Linked DNA regions of Homo sapiens: region 1 is linked to region 2. The links are contacts of gene promoters, found by promoter capture Hi-C in human tissues and cell types (Jung and others, 2019). All regions are on one chromosome and are shown on one strand. The core of a region is centred on a gene start or on the middle of the fragment in contact, and the rest is flanking DNA. Distances in the headings are between cores, read along the strand shown. Region 1 holds the start of UHRF2 (ubiquitin like with PHD and ring finger domains 2). Region 2 holds the start of GLDC (glycine decarboxylase).

What was found. The method cuts DNA at HindIII sites, captures the fragments that hold promoters and counts their contacts. A contact is called where the count stands out against the background at its distance.
Region 1: a contact is called between the fragment with the promoter of UHRF2 here and the fragment with the promoter of GLDC in region 2, in 2 of the 25 tissues and cell types used here (adrenal gland and heart right ventricle).

What each region holds. Positions count from the first base shown.
Region 1 is chr9:6,411,772-6,417,940 of GRCh38, reverse strand. UHRF2 (ubiquitin like with PHD and ring finger domains 2) reads right to left here and starts at 4,742. Exons shown (of 16, transcript NM_152896.3): 1 at 4,298-4,742. The coding sequence starts at 4,450. RefSeq lists silencers at 3,925-4,354, 4,425-4,604, 4,885-5,024. The HindIII fragment of the contact is 6,487 bases long and covers 1,693-6,169 here.
Region 2 is chr9:6,644,479-6,650,421 of GRCh38, reverse strand. It overlaps GLDC (glycine decarboxylase), which reads left to right and starts at 4,693. Exons shown (of 25, transcript NM_000170.3): 1 at 4,693-5,177; 2 at 5,730-5,808. The coding sequence starts at 4,923. RefSeq lists enhancers at 1,588-2,143, 2,144-2,699, 3,686-3,785, 3,836-3,945, 4,926-5,483 and silencers at 4,616-4,865, 4,936-5,135, 5,176-5,245. The HindIII fragment of the contact is 11,104 bases long and covers 1-5,943 here.

The sequences.
Region 1 (6,169 bases), core at 3,493-5,992, 230 kb after region 2:
ATTTTTCCACTTAGGTTTGAGGGACCAGAGTCAGAGTGACGTTGAGGGTATTTCTACAGTCAGCTCCTGGTTAGTTTCTACTAAATGACGGTCAGGAGTAAATACAAACTGTTTCAACTGGTGCTTTTTAAAATTTGATTTGACAGGAAAAAATGTCGTAAGAGCACCATGTCTAAGCATATCACGGCATGAGACCCTATAAGTTACATCCACAGTAACATATAACCACCTTTCCTCATGCTTGCTATGACAGGCTTTTTAAACCCAGATTATCCACTCCTTCGCTAATTCATAGGTACTCCTCCAGTCTTCCTACAATAGTGACCATTTATCTACCGCAATAACAAGTTCCACACAACTTTATTCCACAAAGCTTCACATATTATGAAGAGCTGTGAAGTGTTGAGATGATTTACTTGAAAAGTACCGAAGTTCTTCCACATTTAATGAAAGTGAAGATTGAAAGTTATCTCTGACACTCAAATTAAGCTCTAAGTAGGGAAAAAAGGAAGCGGTCATTTAGAAATCACAAACATCTGTGAGTCAGAAGCATGTAACTTAGGTCCATCAATGTCTCAAAAGCAAATGTTTGAGAACTGCCATACTCGAAGATGGAGATGCAGTATTTACAATACTTAAGAAGCAAAAATGGTTAGGATTTTTTGTCAGACCACTCTTGAAATTTTACTGAGTTGAAAGAAGAAACTCCAGGTAACAAGAGGAACTGCAACAATGATGCAAGGGAATACTAGAAAGCAAATGCCAAGTGGAAGTGGCTGAGAGGGCAGTGGGAAGTCATTCCCAAGCAACTACTGACTAGGGATGCCAGTGAAGGGCAAAACAACTTTCACGTATCCATCACATATTATATATGTGTGTATTATATATGTTATATACATCATATATAATATATACATAGATATTCCTTTAAATAGGCAAGTACTTTTATATTCTGTGTGAAAACCAAGTGGGAGAGGCAACTTTTTTCTTCAACTATAGTTCATGCCCCACATTGTTATCTATTTTAAGACCACCTCTATAGTGGTAAGGAGTGAAAGAATGACGAGAGAGAATCCTTTAAAATAGGAAAAGCTCTGGATTCTCAAAAGATTTAGGCCGGGCGCGGTGGCTCACGCCTGTAATCCCAGCACTTTGGGAGGCCGAGGCGGGCGGATCACGAGGTCAGGAGATCGAGACCACGGTGAAACCCCGTCTCTACTAAAAATACAAAAAATCAGCCGGGCGCAGTGGCGGGCGCCTGTAGTCCCAGCTACTCGGGAGGCTGAGGCAGAATGGCGTGAACCCGGAAGGCGGAGCTTGCAGTGAGCGGAGATCGCGCCACAGCACTCCCGCCTGGGCGACAGAACGAGACTCCGTCTCAAAAAAAAAAAAAAAAAAAAAAAAAGATTTAGAGATCCACCAACATAATCTCTTCCTTAAAAAGACCCAATCCCCCGCGTGCCTCAAACTCAACTTCCCAGATAAGAATGTTCACAGCATGTTATCCTACTCTAACCAAAACTTATAGCCCTGAATTGCAGGTCTCCATTTTGACCCTCAAATGTGGAGTCAAGGCTGGGCACGGTAGCTTACGCCTGTAATCCCAGCACTTTGGGAAGCCGAGGTGGGCGCATCACCTGAGGTCCTGTCCTAGATAGAGACCATCGTGTCCAAAATGGTGAAACCTCGTCTCTACTAAAATACAAAAAATTTGCCGGGAGTGGTGGCGCACGCCTGTAGTCCCAGCTACTTGGGAGACTGCGGCAGGGGAATCGCTTGAACCCGGGAGGCAGAGGTTGTAGTAAGCCGAGATCGCGCCACTCCAGCCTGGCGACAGGGCAAGACTCCGGCTTAAAAAAAAAACAAAAACAACAACAAAAAAAGTGGAGTCAATTAACACTGCCTTCTCCAACTTCACCTACATACAGATCACCTGGAGATCTTGTTAAAATACAGATTCTGCTTCAGTAGGTCAGCTTCAGTAGGTCTGGCGTGAGGATTTCAGGTAAAGCTAATGCTGCTGGTCCTGAGAATCCAGGGACCATACTTTGAATAGTAAGAGACTAGTGGGAGACTATCTATCAACATTCATTTTCTAAACTCTGGTGTTATCAGAATCTCCCGTGGGGTCTTGTTAAATTCAACTACTTGCAGTTCTGGGGTGAGCTGAACATCTATAATAAATATCCACAAGCGATTCTGATACATACCAAAGATTAAAAGCTGGAGCCTAACATACGAATGGAGTATGGGGGGCGGGTACCACTTAAATAAAAATAAATGTATTGTCTACAATTTATGACATTTTTCACTACGTGGCAGTAAAGTATTTTGAAGTAGGGGTACCTTTTTCCAATGAGGACATGGTATTTTACAGGACGGGGACTCTCTGTGATGCCATTCCAGTAGTTACCTGCTACAGGCTGGCTACCTCATCTGTGGAGCTCCAGAGACCACGAAAGATAACACTCATTGCCATAGCTACTTGTCAGCGCATAAGAAAGTGAACACACAGCTGGTACCAATGACCTTCCTTTTCTGTTTCCAAGTTAATGGCTGGCACCAAAGGTCTATTCCTCTACCCTACTGGTTTATCACTGGGCTGAAGAAACCCAAGTAGTGAATTACCCACTAGGACCCTGGAAGAGGAAGTACAACGGTTATCCTCAGTTTTCCCTGGAATCTGGAATGAGCTTCCTAGTTTACTGAAAGTCTACTTTGTTGCCTTGAATTTAACCCAATCCCATATGTGATAATTATTTTAGCATATTTGATAATAAAGATTTTAGGAGTGTTGCCCAAGAACATCCTTCATTTCTATCTCTGGTGCTGAAATCACCAGTGTCCTAGGAATTCATGTACTATTTGTCCCCAGCTAGAAAATAAAATGCATCAAACGATTACATGCTTTTTCACTTGTGATCAAAAGGAAACGGTATCAGCCACTTGAGGCACAGCAAAGCAAATCTATGTAGTATTTAACAAGTGTACAATTATTTCAAAAGCAAAGCTTACAACTAAATACCTGTTTTTACAAGTCAAACACTAAGAAGTCAGTACAAAACTGGCTGCAAACACAAATCAAAGGTGCTATAACATTATTTTAAAGAGAGAAGGAAAGGGGAAAAAAAAGCTCTCTCCTTCCCAAAGTGTAATTTGTTACTATGAAATTTCTGGACAGTCTTCGAAGACTAAGCCTGTGAAGGGGAGGAAAATATTCCTTTTAAGTAGTTTGCAACTGTAGGCTACTTCTACCAAATCAAAGAGCTACACTTATTTAAAACCACAGGATTGGAGCCAAACTGTGGTCTATCAACTCAGGATGCCAACTTTTTAGTGTATTAACAACAACATGAAGACAAAGAAAAATACGATGGGTCTGAGTGGCTAGGGATATAGATTGTAAGAGACTTGTGGAATAGGAAAAAAACTTAGACTGGCCAGACCATAAAAATACCAGAGATGCCCACAGACAGCCTTCAAGTATGCACCGCTGGCTATGCTGCAGTGCTATGCTTAAAGCGTGAACGACATGAGTATTAGAAGGCGAGAAGTAAGAAAAGCAAACAGTCTTACACTCCTTTTCACTTCGGGAATAAAACTCTTGGCTTATATAGGGCATTCGTAAACCCGGCCCCCGGTTAAACCGACAGTTTCTTCATGCCCAGGTCTCTAACCTCCCTCGAGACATTCCAAACCTAGGAAAGGCGGCGAGGGAGAGGGACCAGAAGTTCTGGAAACCCTTCGAATCTTCAGTTTGCGCGAATCCTACCACAGTCAGGAAGCAGAGTTAGGGTTCTTATTCTTGAGAGCTCAATGCCCGAGTTTCCCCTGTTTGAGAGCCGAAGACGCGGAAGAGCCGCGGAAGCCAGGCGAACGCTCAGCCGGGTTAGCCAGCTCTCCGGGTCTCCCGCGCGGTGGCATGGCCGCCAGAGCCCTCTGCCCTCCCCGCCCTCTGGGGGCCCCAGGCCCCGCCGAGCGCGGGAAGCGAGGGACCTGGGCACCCAGTGCCTACGGCCGCTGTCCTACCAAATACAAACGGCGAGATATTTGCGCTCCGGACGCCCTCACTTCTGACCCCGCGCGGCGCACCTCCAGTTGGGGCTGGCAGGGACCCACTCCCCACCATTCGGCGGGACTGGGCCCCGCACCCCGCGCCTCGCGGGGGCTGCCCACCCGCAGCGGAGCCAGGTGAGCCCTGCGCGCGCGGCGCACAGAGCCCTCGGACCGGTGCGTCCAGAGGAGCCCAGCTGTTCCGGCCCCCAGCCTCGCTAGGGGCGCGGCGGGCGCGCCTCACCTGCTTGCCCCGGTAGAAGAGGCGCTGGCATTCGGGCCGCACGTCGAACAGCGCCCACACCCGCTCGCGCAGCTCCTCAATCGTGGCTTTGCGAGACACGTCCTCAATGGTGCACGTCTTGGAGCCATCAATGGTGCGAACCTGTATCCACATCTTGGCGCCTAGAGAGGAACCGGTCCCCTTTGTCTCCCCCTGAGCTCTGGGCGCCGCGCCCCGCCCGGCCCGCGCCGCTTTCCCTGCGGCTCGGGCCCTCAGCGGCAGGCGGGCGAGCGCGCCCACCGGACCGACCGGACGCCGGGCCCGACAGGCGGCGACGACTCTCAGCGCGCGCGCCCGACTAGCCGACTTGAGGAGAGACGACCGGAACCACTCTGAGGCGCTGCCGCAGACACCGCCTCAAAGATAGGAAGAGGCCATGTCTGCGCCGCGCAGAGTGTTTACTTATAGAGCTGGAGCTCCCACATGGAGGTCACGGCGCCAAGCCGGATCTCGCGAGATCCACGCCGGGCTCCGCCTTAAAGAGGAAGCGGCCCGGGAGAGGGTTACAGACCCGAGGGAACGAAAATGGGCAGGCGCGGAGAGGGCGGGTCGGAGGGGCGGGGCTACCAAAAGCCGTTACTTGCCCCACCGCCTGCACCTGGCCACTGGGCACGCCCTCTAGCCTTTGGGTTTCGGAAGATTGCGCGGCTACCACATCGGTTGCCGTTTTGAGGCCTCGTTTCAGAGCTGAGGGGGCGGGTGCCTCCTCAGGCTTAGCGGATATGGTTCTTTGGTCTCAAAAACACACCAAAAATAAGAAACCCTGGCGTGCACTTGTATAATCCTGGAAAGGGGGCGCGGGTGGGTGCGGCCTAAACTTCCGAGAAAGAACTGAAGGAAATGTGTGCGCTCCACCGCGCTCAACAGGAAAGCTCCCGCCACGCGGCCTGGCGGGTCGGGTCGCCCGGGAAAGGCCCCGGGGGCCCTCCTGCTTCGCGAACACGTTTCCCGCCTGGCCGCAATGCTACTTTCGCGCGGAAACCCACTTCCGAGGGTTTCCCGTCGCCTGGCGGAGGCGGCAGCTCCAGGCCTATCCTCAGGCCGCGGGTCCCGCTGGGATCGCCCTCTCTGGCTTGCAGCGCTCCCAGCCGGCCCTCCGGCCTTGGAGAAGTCGGGGCAGCTGCCCGAAAGGCCGCTCTCTAACTCCGGACATTTCCGTTCGTAGACTTTCCGCGTTAGGGGTGCCTTTGGCCTAAGGGATTGCGGGTTTGCGGGAAACAGTTTTAAATAATGCAGAGCTACGCGCCTCCGAAGAAAGAACTCCAAAGACCCTACTAGGATTAAACCCTCAGAAGTGGGCCCAACGCAGCACTACCTAACAGGGCTTCCCCCACCCCCCACCCCGCCTTCTTAATCCTTCCCTGCTACAGCTGGGGAGTCGGGGTGGGGGTGAGTGGGTTTATTTTATTTTATTTATTATGTATGTATGTATGTATGTATGTATGTATTTAGAGACGGAATCTCTCTCTGTCGCCCAGGCTGGAGTGCAGTGGCGCGATCTCGGCTCACTGCAAGCTCCGCCTCCCGGGTTCACGCCATTCTCCTGCCTCAGCCTCCCTGGGGTAGCTGGGACTACAGGCGCCCGCCACCGCGCCCGGCTAATAGTCTCGATCTCCTGACCTCGTGATCCACCCGCCTCGGCCTTCCAAAGTGCTGGGATTACAGGCGTGAGCCACCGCGCCCGGCCAAGTGGGTTTATTTTAAATGAAAATATGTCTTCTCAAGAAGGGAGAGAGGATATAAACGTAAACAAAACAAGACAACTTGGACTTCACATTTGCCAAAATCGGTAACTTAAATATTCACATAGGTGCTAATTATTCCCATAAAGGT
Region 2 (5,943 bases), core at 3,444-5,943:
TAGAGCAGAACGGGCAGGGGAGGAACAAAAGTGGAGGCAGGCCAGGTGCGGTGGCTCACGCCTGTAATCCCAGCACTTTGGGAGGCTGAGACGGGCGGATCACCTGAAGTCAGGAGTTTGAGACCAGCCTGACCAACATGGAGAAACCCCGTCTCTACTAAAAATATGAAAAAATTAGCTGGGCGTGGTGACGCATGCCTGTAATCCCAGCTACTCGGGAGGCTGAGGCAGAAGAATCGCTTGAACCTGGGAGGCGGAGATCGGGACATTGCACTCCAGCCTGGGCAACAAGAGCAAAACTCAAAAAAAAAAGAAAAGGGGGAGGCAAAGGAAAAAACTCCCTGAAAGCTCATACAATGGCAGGGAGTGAATGTGTCTCTCAGGAATCTCTTGCCTTTTTCACCCAAACATTAAGCCCTCCTCAATCTGCTTTTGGCTTCCATTATAGCCTTTGTTTGGGTTTATTCAGGAAAACTAACTGTTTTGAAAAAGCACTATAACTGTGCTTCCTCTGGTCTCACACCACACTACAACAATCAACACAGAAGATTTCCATGATCTGGCTGGGCGTGGTGGCTCATGCCTGTAATCCCAACACTTTTGGAGGCCAGGGTGGGCGGATCACTTGAGGTCAGGAGTTTGAGACCAGCCTGGCCAACATGGGGAAACTCCATCTCTACTAAAAAAAAAAAACACAAAAATTAGTGCGTGTGGTGGCATATGCCTGTAGTCCCTGCTACTCTGGAGGCTGAGGCAGGAGAATTGCTTGAAACTGTGAGGTCGAGGTCACAGTGAGCTGAGATCGCACCACTACACTCCAGCCTGGGCAACAGACCAAGGCTCTGTCTCAATGGAAAAACAGAAAGAAGAAGATGACTTCCATGATCCCGAAATATATGGGGATTTCTCCCCACCAACAAGCAAGCAGTCGGTTCTGAGGCAGACACCAGCTGGGTGCACTCCACTTCAATTCTGACACTCTATCTAGGGATACCGCCAGATCCCAAGGGTTGAGGGCTCAGTCCCCAAGACATCAGTTGCAATTCTAGGCCTCCAGAACTTCTGACGGATCAGCTTGAAGCTGGGGTTTCCATGATCCCTTCTTTGGGTTTGATTAATTTGATAGAATAGCTCACAGAACTCAGGGAAACACTTATGTCTACTGATTTTTTATAAAGGATATTACAAGTAACACAGATGAAGAGATGCGCAGGGCGAGGTAGGTATGGGAGAAGGGGTGAGGACCTTCCATGGCCTCTCCCCATGTGCCACTTTGTGTGTATTCAGCTATCCAGAAGCTCTCTGAAACCTCTCCTCTTGGGTTTTTGTGTGTGTGTTATTTTTGTTTTTTTTTTGAGACCGAGTCTTCCTCTGTTGCCCAGGCTGGAGTGCAGTGGCATGATCTTGGCTCACTGCAACCTCCACCTCCCGGATTCAAGTGATTCTCCTGACTCAGCCTCTTGAGTAGCTGGGACTACAGGTGCCCGCCACCACGCCCGGCTAATTTTTTGTATTTTTAGTAGAGATGGGGTTTCACGGTGTTAGCCAGGATGGTCTCGATCTCCTGACCTTGTGATCCGCCCACCTTGGCCTCCCAAAGTGTTGGGATTACAGGCGTGAGCCACCGCGCCCGGCCAATTTTTGTATTTTTAGTAGAGATGGGATTTCACCCTGTTGGCCAGGCTGGTCTCAATCTCCTGACGTCAAGTGATCCGCCAGCCTTGGCCTCCCAAAGTGCTGGGATTACAGGCATGAGCCACCACGTCCGGCTCTTGGGTTTTTATAGAGGCTTTATTAGGAAGGCATGATTGATTAAGCATTGATCATTGACCCTCTGCCCTACTGAGAAGTTGAGGGTGGGGCTGAAAGTCTCAACTCCCATTATGTCTTTGTCTTTCCAGTGACCAGCCCTATTCTGAAGCTGTTAGTCACATTAGCATACAAAAAGGCAGGAGTCTGGAGATTCCCAAGACTTTAGGAGTTGCAGGCCAGGAAATGGGATGAATACCAGATATGTATTTCACAACATCACACAGACAAATAAACAAAAAACACTCAATGCATTTCAAGCAGAGGAGAATTAAATGTCAGGAATGGGTGCATACAAAACCACTGGAAGAACTGGAAGAGCAAAAACCAGGGAATACCAACGCTATCTTCAGGTCAACCACTGAAGCTCTAGTCTAGTACACAGAAATTCCTGCTGGGGAACTGCAGGACATTCCCATTGGTGGATACAGCTTCCCAGCTACCTCAAGATGGGGTGCTGGTAAGGAAGCATGTCATGTCTGCAGTGGTCCATGCATCTGTCTGCTGCAGTCAGAAAATAAGAAAACAGTTTTTACCTTTGTTCCATTTCCCAATTCTCTCTCTCTCTCTTTTTTTTTTTTTAGGCAGAGTCTTGCTCTATCACCCAGGTTGGAGTGCAGTGGTGCGCTCTCCGCTCACTGCAACCTCTGTTTCCCAGGTTCAAGTGATTCTCATGCCTTAGCCTCCTGAGTAGCTAGGACTACAAGCACGCCCACCAAACTTGGCTAAATTTTTTTTCATATTTGTAGTAGAGATTGAGTTTCGCCATCTTGGCCAAGCTGGTCTTGAACTCCTGTCCTCAAGTGACCTGCCCGCCTCGGCCTCCCAAAGTGCTGGGATTACAGGAGTGAGCCACCGCACCCGGCCCCAATTCTCATATACATATATGTGTGTATATATACATGTTTTTTTTTGGCAGAAGGCAAATAACATCCATCACCACGGAGCCAAAGGGATCTGGGAATTATTGTTCCCTGGCTTCCAGTCCCTCTGATACATAGAAACAACATAGACAGGAATAGGAATAAATGCAGATTACCTCCTCCCTCCAATCCTTCCCCACAACCCCCACCATCTGGCACTGAGGAGATCTCCCAACTTTTATGAAGGTTGTAATTTCAATTCCAAATGGCCGAAAAACTTTTCGGAGACATTCAGCCCAGCCGTCCTAGCTCACCACCCGCCTCCGTCTGCCATACAGACATTTTACCTACTGTTCTTTGTGGTGTATTTTCCTGCCCTCTTTTCCATCTCTACTTTCCTGCCTCTCTGGATAGTCTGTGCCTCCTGGGTACGGAGCCCAGAATCTGTTAAGGGTGATTGGAGGAGGAAACTTAGCAGATAAGCAAGAAAGAGAACAGGTTTTATTTTCCCCTAGTCTAAGTACAAGTAATGTTCTGATTACTTCTGTCCTCTCTTCCCCATATTAGAACAACTGGAATTTTAAAAGTTCATTCTCTTGCTAAAACTGTCATGAGACAGCTGGAGATGGTACATTTACAAAAAATCCAGTTCTAGATGGCTAACTTTCAAAGTAAGACGACAGTGAACAATGTCTATCTTAATATCCTTTGTACTTTTGCTGGGCGCAGTGGCTCACGCCTGTAATGACGGATCACGAGGTCAGGAGATCGAGACCATCCTGCCTAAAACGGTGAAACCCCGTCTCTACTAAAAATAAAAATAAAAAATGGCCGGCCGTGGTGGCACGTGCCTGTAGTCCCAGCTACTCAGGAGCCTGAGGCAGGACAATCGCTTGAACCCGGGAGGTGGAGGTTGCAGTGAGCCAAGATCGCGCCACTGCACTCCAGCCAGGGCGACAGAGCGAGATTCCGTCTCAAAAACAACAACAAAATATCCTTTGTAGTTTTACACACACACGTATATGTATATACAGTACATATATTTAAAAAAACATATACACACACACACACAGTTCTTTTTTTTTTTTTTTTCCTGAGTCTCGTTCTGTGGCCCACGCTGGAGTGCAGTGGTGCGATCACATCTCACTGCAGCCTGAAACTCCCTGACTCAAGCAATCCTCCCACCTCAGCCTCCAGAGTAGCTGGGACTTCAGAAGCACGCAACCACGCCCCACTAATTTTTGTATTTTTTGTAGAGACAGGGTTTCACAATGCTGCCCAAGCTGGTCTCGAACTCCTGGGCTCAAGCTATCCTACCGCGTCGGTTTCCGAAAGTGTTGCGATTACAGGCGTGAGCCATAGCGTTACATGTGGTGGGGGGGAAGAGAGAGAAAGAGAGAGAGTGAGAAGAAGGAGGAGGAGGAGGAGGAGGAGAAAGAAGGAAGAAAGAAAAGAAAAGAAATATAGAGAGGGTGTTCAAATCTACTGTTCAAGTGCTTTCCATGTACATATAATCTCTTTTTAAAATCCCATCCAGCTCTGTTGAGATGAGAAAACTGAAGCTCTGAGAGGTTGAGTAACTTTATCACGCTCCCGCAAAGATAAAAGAACCGCCATCTGCCCATATTAATTTCCCTGAGATGAAATGTGACAGAGAAAGATACCTCAAAATTAAGGAAATGGAGAGCTTCGAGAATCATCTTCCATCTCCGCCGAGTCCCCCAGGAACTTGGCCCGGAGTCTTTGGGCTGTCCCACCTGATCTTGCCCCAGTGCGGCTCCACACCCTGGCGGGCGGCGTACGGAGCGTCCCGGCCCCCGGCACCAGCCAGCGTCGGAGTGGGTAGGACTGGAGATGGCAGCCTCCGGTCCAGGGGAAGCGGGACTCCACGGAAGGGCTGGGAAGAGGGTAGGAAGAGGGGGCGGGGGCGGGAACTGTTCCGCCCCCTCCCCCTCTGTCTACTTTCATTGGCCAAGGGCTTCCTGGCCCCAACCCACCTCCCGCCTCCAGGGCGCCGCTTAAAGTGTGCGGAGCAGGTGCCTTGGGTGGAGCCACAACTTTGCGCGAGTGTCTTGGTTGAGCGCAGCGCCCATTCATTGCCCGCGAGCGTCCATCCATCTGTCCGGCCGACTGTCCAGCGAAAGGGGCTCCAGGCCGGGCGCAGCCGCCACCCGGGGGACCGAGGCCAGGAGAGGGGCCAAGAGCGCGGCTGACCCTTGCGGGCCGGGGCAGGGGACGGTGGCCGCGGCCATGCAGTCCTGTGCCAGGGCGTGGGGGCTGCGCCTGGGCCGCGGGGTCGGGGGCGGCCGCCGCCTGGCTGGGGGATCGGGGCCGTGCTGGGCGCCGCGGAGCCGGGACAGCAGCAGTGGCGGCGGGGACAGCGCCGCGGCTGGGGCCTCGCGCCTCCTGGAGCGCCTTCTGCCCAGACACGACGACTTCGCTCGGAGGCACATCGGCCCTGGGGACAAAGACCAGAGAGAGATGCTGCAGACCTTGGGGCTGGCGGTAAGGACCTCCACCCGGCCCTCCGCGGCCTCCCCTCCGCCCTGCCCGGGCTCTGCCTGCGCGGCCTCCCGGCTCCTACCCTGAGCTCTGCTGCGCTCCGCGTGGTCCCCGCACCCTGGGTCCCGGGCCGTGGCGTGGAAGCAAATTCGTGCCTTTGGTCCTCGTGCCTTCTTACTTCTTAACAGCTTACTTTCTCCTGCACCCAGTCTTCGTGCCTCAAAAGTGTACATTTTTAAACCACCCCCAGCCCAAGTGGCCCTGTGGATGGACCTAAACTTTGCAAGAGGAGGAAGACCCCCTGATTAAGAGTGGGCTTACCGGTTAGCTCCGGTTGCAACTGAAATCCAACCCCGAGTGGCGGAATCTCCACCCCACTTCACGATTTTCTTTCCTCCAAATCATTCTGGCTTGCTCAGAGTTTTCCTTTTCTTTTAAAAAGAACCCTAATTAGGCGATTTCAATGAGGTTCCCACAAGGCTTTGTAGTCGCAAAACACAGAGGTGACTCTTTTAACTCAGAGGCACTTTCCTCTGCCTTGCGTTTTAATTTTAGAGCATTGATGAATTGATCGAGAAGACGGTCCCTGCCAACATCCGTTTGAAAAGACCCTTGAAAATGGAAGACCCTGTTTGTAAGTGGCCGGGAGGGCTCCCTTGGACTTAGATTATTCTGGCCTATTTGTCTTTTGTGGTTCCCTGAAAATCGAGCTCTGGGGTAAGGATTGCTCAGGACTGGGAATGTGTGGATTAAAATAAAACAGTGGCGG